Regions from separate parts of the Homo sapiens genome. Here region 2 is linked to region 1. Evidence: promoter capture Hi-C in human tissues and cell types (Jung and others, 2019). All regions are on one chromosome and are shown on one strand. Each heading gives the region's core, a stretch centred on a gene start or on the middle of the fragment in contact. The rest is flanking DNA. Distances are from core to core; before and after follow the strand shown.

What was found. Contacts are between HindIII fragments. The study calls those that stand out against the background at their distance.
Region 2: a fragment that was not itself captured here is called in contact with the fragment with the promoter of ALDH3B2 in region 1 in 3 of the 25 tissues and cell types used here (lymphoblastoid cells, pancreas and spleen).

The regions. Positions count from the first base shown.
Region 1 is chr11:67,673,202-67,677,026 of GRCh38, reverse strand. It overlaps ALDH3B2 (aldehyde dehydrogenase 3 family member B2), which reads left to right and starts at 2,404. Exons shown (of 10, transcript NM_001393402.2): 1 at 2,404-2,591. The HindIII fragment of the contact is 24,145 bases long and covers 1-3,825 here.
Region 2 is chr11:67,539,227-67,543,332 of GRCh38, reverse strand. No RefSeq gene overlaps it. Among named protein-coding and RNA genes, the nearest start is that of CABP2, 18 kb to the right of the region's middle. The HindIII fragment of the contact is 3,306 bases long and covers 614-3,919 here.

The DNA of each region.
Region 1 (3,825 bases), core at 1,155-3,654:
TGACTGTCTGGTAAAATTCTGCTGTGAATCCTTCTGGTCCTGGACTTTTTTTTTGTTGGTAATTTTAAAATTACCACTTCCATCCCGCTGCTTGTTATTGGCCTGTTCAGGGTATCTAATTCTTCCTGATTTAAACTAGGGGGGTTGTATTTTTCCAGGAATGTAACCATTGCTTCTAGGTTTTCTAGTTTATGTGTGTAAAGGTGTTCACCATAGCCTTGAATGCTCTTTTATATTTCAGTGGTGTCAGTTGTAATATCTCCTGTTTCATTTCTCAGTGAGTTTATTAGGATTTTCTCTCTTCTTTTCTTGGTTAATCTTGCAAATGATCTATCAATTTTATTTATCTTTTCAAAGAACAAGTTTTTGTTTCATTTACCTTTTGTATATTTTTTCTGTTTCAATTTCATTTAGTTCTGCTCTAATCTTGGTTATTTCCTTTCTTCTGCTTGGTTTGGGTTTGGATTGTTCTCGTTCCTCTGTTCCTTGAGGTGTGATCTTAGATTGTCTGTGCTCTTTCAGACTTTTTGATGTAGGCATTTAGGGCTATGAACTTTCCTCTTAGCACAGCCTTAGCTGTATCCCAGAGGTTTTGATAGGTTGTGTCACTGTTGTCATTCAGTTTGAAGAATTTTTTAATTTCCATCTTGATTTTGTTTTTGACCCAATGCTCATTCAAGAGCAGGTTATTTAATTTCCAGTTATTTGCATGGTTTTGAAGGTTCTTTTTGGAGTTGATTTCCAGTTTTATTCCACCGTGGTCTAAGAACATGCCTGATATAATTTCATTTTTCTCTTGTTGCCCAGGCTGGAGTGCAATGGTGTGCTCTCAGCTCACTGCAACCTCTGCTTCCTAGGTTCCAGCAATTCTCCTGCCTCAGCCTCCCGAGTAGCTGGGATTACAGGCACATGCCACCACGCCTGGCTAATTTTTTGTATTTTTAGTAGAGACAGGGTTTCACCATGTTGGCCAGGCTGTTCTGGAACTCCTAACCTCAAGTGATCCACCAGCTTCGGCCTCCCAAAGTGCTGGGATTACAGGCATGAGCCACCGCACCCGACCTATTTTACATTTTAACAATTGCTACTGAGGTTGAGCATATTTTAATTTATTTACGTCTATTCAGGCTTCTTGTCAGTTCAGTTTAACAAAACAAAACAAAACAGCTTATTGAGATAGCATTCACATCCCATACAACTCACCCATTTACAGTGTACAATTCAGTGGTTTGGAGGCAGTGGGCCTCCCCAGTGGCCATAACCCATCTGCTGCTCTTAGATGGGCCTTAGCATTCTGCCCTGTATTCCCTTCCCCATCCCGAGGTCCCTTCCTGGTGTCACATTGGCATTTACATCTTTAGCTACCGAAGATTCCAGGGCCAGGGCTTGGTCTCAGGCTGTGGCCTCCGCTGGGCTGTCTCCAGTCACAACCAAGGGTTATCTCAGATGTCCCTCCTGCCCACAGGGCTGCACACTCTGCCAAGAGACTCTCTACAGCCCTCAGCAGGGCGTGTCCTTGGTCTCAGGCTTGGGGGAAGGTGGGGTGGGGACAGAGTCAGGCCATCCATGAAGGACAGTGGCAGGACCTGAGCTCATTCTGCTCCCTGGAACCTAGAAGGTGCTCAGCAAATACTTGTGGAAACATTAGCGGGCAACATTGAGGGGCACTGATTTTGTGCCAGGAGCTGTGATCTGCCTTTTCCATTCTCACGTCTCCCTCTGTGACCCTCTCAAGAACCATGGCAATTAGGTGTTATTGTTACTTCCGAAAGGCTCAGAGACGTTAAGTAACCTACCCACGGTTGCACAGTAAATAAATAAACCAATGAACAATGCGCCATCCTAGAGCTACAGGTGCCGTCGCCCATCAAGGGTCTCTCTGCAAAGATCTGAGCCCCTTCCTCTGCCCTGAGTATGCCAGCTGGGCACACTGAGAGTGGAAATAGAGCCACAGTTGCTCATCTTGACCTGTGAAGCCTGAAGAGTGAGGACAGGAGAGGAGGGAGATGAAGATTTAGCATAGAGACCCTAGGAGGGGCCATGGGGGGCATGGGACCACTGTGGCTGGGGCCTGGGAGGACTTCCTGGCGAAGGCAGCATTTGCCACCAGGATCCTGCTGATATTTTCATCCTGTGACCTTCCCCTGGGGTTCTTTTTTCCTGATCAGGTAACTCCCTGCTAGCCCATTCCAGGAAACACAGAGCAAAGCCTCAGACAGCCTTGACTTGTCTAACCTGTTCCCAAGCCGGCTGTGCAGTGTGGTCCCTGGGGGCAGGGCCCTGGAAGAACAGGGCAGACACCGAGCAGCTATAGGTCCTGGCAGTGAGACAAGGGTAGGCATGGGAATTGGGAGGTGCAGCCCTGCCCCACGCCTGTTGGGTAACACTGAGCATCACCCCATTGATTACCCCATTGCCAGGCGTGGGCACGGGAGTTGGTTTGGGAGCTGCCAGTCTCCTGGGAGGATCGCAGTCAGCAGAGCAGGGCTGAGGCCTGGGGGTAGGAGCAGAGCCTGCGCATCTGGAGGCAGCATGTCCAAGAAAGGGAGTGGAGGTGCAGCGAAGGACCCAGGGGCAGAGCCCACGCTGGGTTATGTGGGGCCACAGGGGTGAGGGGCGGGCAGAGGGAGCTCAGGGTAAAGGACACTGGTGGGAACCAGGGGCATGGAGGGAAGGGGATGTGTGCCCATGGCCCGTGGGTCAGGGGGCAAGCCCACCAAGGGGCCTATGGCTGCAGGGGCCATGGGTACGGGGCTTGCTCAGGAGAGGGAGGTGGGTGCTGGTGTCTTCTGAGCCTCACTTTGCCCTTTGGCAGGCTCCTGGGAAGCAGCCACAGAAATGAAGCCTGTTCCCCAGGAGCCCCAGGGATGGGGACAGACCCCGTCCTCCCTTTGAGGAGCTCCCAGGTTAGAGGAGAAGGCAGCTCTGTGGACAGACAAGGATTGGGTCGGGGGCACCAGGGCTGTGATCAGGAGGTGCCGGAGAATCGGGGATTGGAAGCAGAGAGATTCTTGGCAGTTGAAGCGAAAGTCGGATCTTTGGTTTCAGATGTTAAAAGCAACATGCATTGCTTGTTTCTGGTTCTAGAAATACTACATTCGCATTTAGAAAGTCTGGAAGCTGCAGGAAGATGTTGAGAAGACAGTGAAAGGCACGAGGCACACATTGGCACATGGTGTCACAAGGCTGGTGTGAGGAGAGGGGCTGGGGGGCCTCCCTCCTCGCACTGAGGCTGTGAGGAGGGCAAATCAAGTCGTCTCTGGGAGCCTCGGTTTCCCTGTCCTTCCAACTGGGTAATAATAATAGCTGTGAGGCTCAGATGAGATGTGCATGCCAGCTACCTGGCCCCAGATGCCAGCTCTGACTTCTTTCTGGGCCCTGCACCAGGCATGGCCACTGCCAAGGGAATGAGTCCCCTCTCCATATGACAGGTCCCATCAGGCCTCCACCTTCCTGTGTGTCTTATTTCTCAGCATCTGCCCCCACAGGGCTTTTGCACACGTTGGTCCCTCTGTCCAGATCACCTGCCCTCCAAGAGGCCCTCCCCTACGGCTTCCCCGCAGCAGTCAGAGCCAGGGGTGGGTCTCTGGCCACCTCTGGAAGAAGCCCTGGCCCACCGATCATGTTTGTAATGATATTGTTTCCGGTGTCATTGTTCCGTGTGTAGACTGTGAGCTCCATGGGGGCTGGCCAAGTCTGGGGTGGTCACCTATGGGACCCAGGTCCAGTCAGGAACTGCCTGGTGAGCAGCCAGAGGTCCCCAGTGTAAACCCAGAAAATCTGAGACGGGTCTCAGTTAATTTATAAAGTTTATTTTGCCTGTAA
Region 2 (4,106 bases), core at 1,017-3,516, 130 kb after region 1:
CAGCAGCTGGCCGGGGCCAGAGGCTCCTCCTGAGAACAGCAGCTTTTTATCTGTAACCTGCATGGCCGCCCTCCCCAGCCGGGGAGCAAATCCAGCCACTAGTTCCAAATGTTCCAACCTTCAAACCAAAGCCGCTCCCACTCCCACCCCCATCCTGATTGGCTGAAGCCGAGCCTTTCTCTTGGGCTTCCTGTCCCCCGTATAATGAAGGGGAGTAAACAGAGTTACTGGCCTCCTGCAGTCACTCTGTGCCAGAATTTAAGGACAAAACAAAAAACAAACAAACAACAACAACAACAAACAGTAGCTTGAGCCACCACCTGTGGCAGAGGTGATTCAAGCACAGGCGTGGAGCCAGAAAGCTTTAATTCAATTCCTGGGTCAGCCTCTTACCAGCTATGTGAACTTTGGCAGTTACTTTACCTCTCTGTGTCTCTGTTTCCTCATCTCTAAAATGGAGATAATGGGTCGGGCACGGTAACTCACCCCTGTAATCCAAGTACTTTGGGAGGCCAAAGCAGGCGGATCACTTGAGGTCATGAGTTGGAGACCAGCCTGGCCAAAATAGTGAAACCCCATCTCTACTAAAAATACAAAACTTAGCCGGGTGTGGTGGTGGGCACCTGTAATTCCAGCTGCTCTGGAGGCCTAGGCAGGAGAATCGCTTGAATTCAGGAGGAGGTTGCAGTGAGCCAAGATCACGCCACTGCACTCCAGCCTGGGTGACAGAGCAAGACTCCGTCTCAAAAAATATAAAATTAAAAAAATAAAATGGAGATAATAATAGCATCCACGGGGTGGATTTTTTCTGCCAATTAAATGAGTTGATAGATGTCAAGTGCTTGGGGCACTGCCTGGAGGAAGCTTACCCTCCTCCCTCCCATATGCTGCTAGGGAGTCCCGACCACATGCCCTGGGTGTCATCTGTCAACTTTACAGCTAGAGGGGCTCCCAGCCTCTCACCAATGACCATCTGATCACTCCCACGCCTTGCAGCACCAGCTCACACATGTGGCTTCATGCCAGTCCTGAGGTACCCAGACAGGGGCCCAGTCCCTTTTCCTGGCCACAGGGAGCCTCTCCATCCACCTTCTTGCAGTCTCAGAGCTACACAGCCAAAATGTCCAGCCCAGTCACCCTGAAGAGTGTGAAAGTGATTGTCTGAAGGAAGCTTTCTTTTAAAAATATTTTTATACAGTCACAGTGGCTCACACCTGTAATTCCAGCATTTTGGGAGGCCAAGGCGGGTGGATCACTTGAGGTCAGGAGTTCGAGGTCAGCCTGGCCACCATGGCCAAACCCCGTCTCTTCTAAAAATGCAAAAATTAGCCAGGTGTGGTGGCGTGCGCCTGTAATCCCAGCTACTTGGGAGGCTGAGGCATGAGGATCACTTGAATCCAGGAGGTGGAGGTTGCAGTGAGCTGAGATCATGCCACTGCACTCCAGCCTGGGTGATAGAGTAAGACTGTCTCAAAAAATAAAATAAAAAATGTTTTTAGAGATGGGGTCTCGCTCTTTTGCCCAGGCTGGAGTTTAGCGGTGCAATCATAGTTCACTGCAGTCTTTAACTCCTGGGCTCAAGCAATCCTCCCACCTCAGCCTCTGAGTAGCTGGGACTGCAAGTGTGAGCCGGTGCATCCAACTCCTGCGGGAAGCTTTGAAAAGAGCAACTCCTCTCCTCCTGCTGCTCTGGAACCTGCGGGATGCTCGAATGTCCCCTAGGCCTGCTCTGTGGCCTACCACGGCCACTGTCTTCCCTGCCTACACAGTGAACCACTGTGGTCCAAGGAGTCCAGCCCTTCCCATGCCAAGCCACTGGTAAGGCTGCCTGCCCTCAGGCACCAGGGCATCCCAAGCATACTCCAAGGCCTGGCCCAGGCGAGGCTGGAACCTGAACACGCCCTCCTGAATGCTCGGGGCACTGAGGAGGCTCACAGGCCACAGGCTGCAGGCCCTGGGCCCTGCCTGGCAGGCTCCTTGGGGCAGGGTTACAAGACCCACTGGAACAGCTCCCCCCTCAGGCAACAGTCTGTCTTCTGGGCTGTGGAAGCTTCGGGATTTCACTGAGATGATGGGTGTGCAGCACTTTCCTCTTGGGGACTGGGGGGGTCGTTCCTGGACCATGCCTCCCAAAAGGGGTCAGCTCTCCTTCACCAGAAACAGAACTGCCAGTCAGCCCCTCAAACCCAAGGTGCATAAGACCCCTCCCCATGGAGCCTCTGCTAAGCATCTCAGTCAGGCAAACGCTCCTTTGAGGGGCAGCCAGGCCTCCAACCTGGGAGCTTAGCACCCAGGACACCAACTCGACCCATCTACCCACTTGCTTAGTGAACCTAGGCAGTCCAGTCCTCTCTCTGGGCCTCAGTTTCCCTGTCTATTAGGTGTTGAGTTAGGTGGTGCCCAAGGCTTCCTGAGCTATCACAGGCTCTGATTCCTAAAAGTCACCATCCCTGTTCAAAAGCCTGCAGTGGCTCCCTAGTGCCCTGGGAGTCAACTCCCACTCCTTCATCCAGCAGACAAGGCCTCTGCCAAGGTCACCAGCGCCCCTGTCCACTCAACCCCTGGGAGGGTCATCTGTAGCCTCTGGTCCTGCCTATGCCTGGGTCATTCCCAGCAGCCTGGGATGGGGTAGAAGGTCCCTTATGCCCACCCAGCCCCTCAATGACCTCAGCACAGCTTTCCTCTCATTGCTTTTATTGATTCCCAAGGGCAACCCTGCTCCCATGGGGAGGCCAAGTGGGCTCACATCTTGTAGCCTCCAAAGATGGGGTCGTTCCCATACTCAGGGGAAGCCAGGGAGGCCTCGAGCTTAGGCTGGGCGCTGAGGCGTGCCACGTAGGCTGAGAGCAGGAGGAGGGCACCCAGATAGCCGGGCACCAGTGTCCCTGGTAGAGGGTTGTGACTGCAAGTTGTCCAGGTTCATGGTGTTTTGAACCAAGAATTGGACAAAACACCCAGCAAAGCAAAGAAAGAATGAAGCAACAAAAGAATGAAAGCAGTTTTTTGTTTTTTGTTTTTTTTGAGACGGAGTCTTGCTCTGTCACCCAGGCTGGAGTGCAGTGGTGTGATCTCTGCTAACTGCAACCTCTGCCTCCCAAGTTCAAGTGATTCTTGTGCTTCAGCCTCCCAAGTAGCTGGGATCATAGGCGTGTGCCACCACACTCAGCTAATTTTTTTTTTTTTTTTTTTTTTTTGTATTTTCAGTAGAGACAGGGTTTCACCATGTTGGCCAGGCTGGTCTTGAACTCCTGACCTCAGGTGATCCACCCACCTCGGCCTCCCAGAGTGCTGGGATTACAGGTGTGAGCCACCACACCCGGCCTAAAAGCAGGGATTTATCGAAAACGAAAGTACACTCCACAGTGTGGGAGTGGGCCCAGCAGCAGCTCAAGGGCCTGGATACAGAATCTTCTTGGGTCCAAATACCCCCTAGAAGTTTCCCATTGGTCACTTCATGCTCACCTCATGTAAATGAAGTGGTAGCCTGCAATCTGATTGGTTGCGGAAAACAGCCAATCAGAGGCTGAAGTGAACTTACAAAGGTCACACTCCTGTGCCAACATCTGATTGGATCAGATGTTTGCTAGGGTGAAGTTACAAAGTTATGCTTCTATGCAAACGAAGACTCCACCCACAATCAGTCTGATTGTTTGTGGACAGCAACCATTCATAGGCTGGAGTGAAATTACCAAGTTGCAAACGAAGACTCCACCCACAACTAGTCTGATTTGTTGGGGACAGCCAATTTCGCATCTGCTGTGCAGAAAAGGTCAAATGGAGTAGCCTCTGGTCCTTTTGTTACTTAGGTGTGGAAAGTTAGGGTTTTCCTTTCAATTTAGTTCTAGGAAGTTGGCATGAAACAGCCTTAGGTTCCCTGCCTCCACACCCTATTCTCCTGCCTCACCAGGACCTGGTGGGCCAGCAGCAAGTCCAGCAGGTTGTGGTCGGTGAAGGAGACCTGCAGGGCAGGGAGTGTGAGGGAGCTTGAGCTGGGTCAGGAGAGAGCAGCTTCAGGAGCCAGAACCCTGGCTGTCTCTGCTGCAGTGAACTGGCCCACCCTGGGCCTCAGTTTGCCCTTCTAAGAAATGGACCTACAATGATCTGGG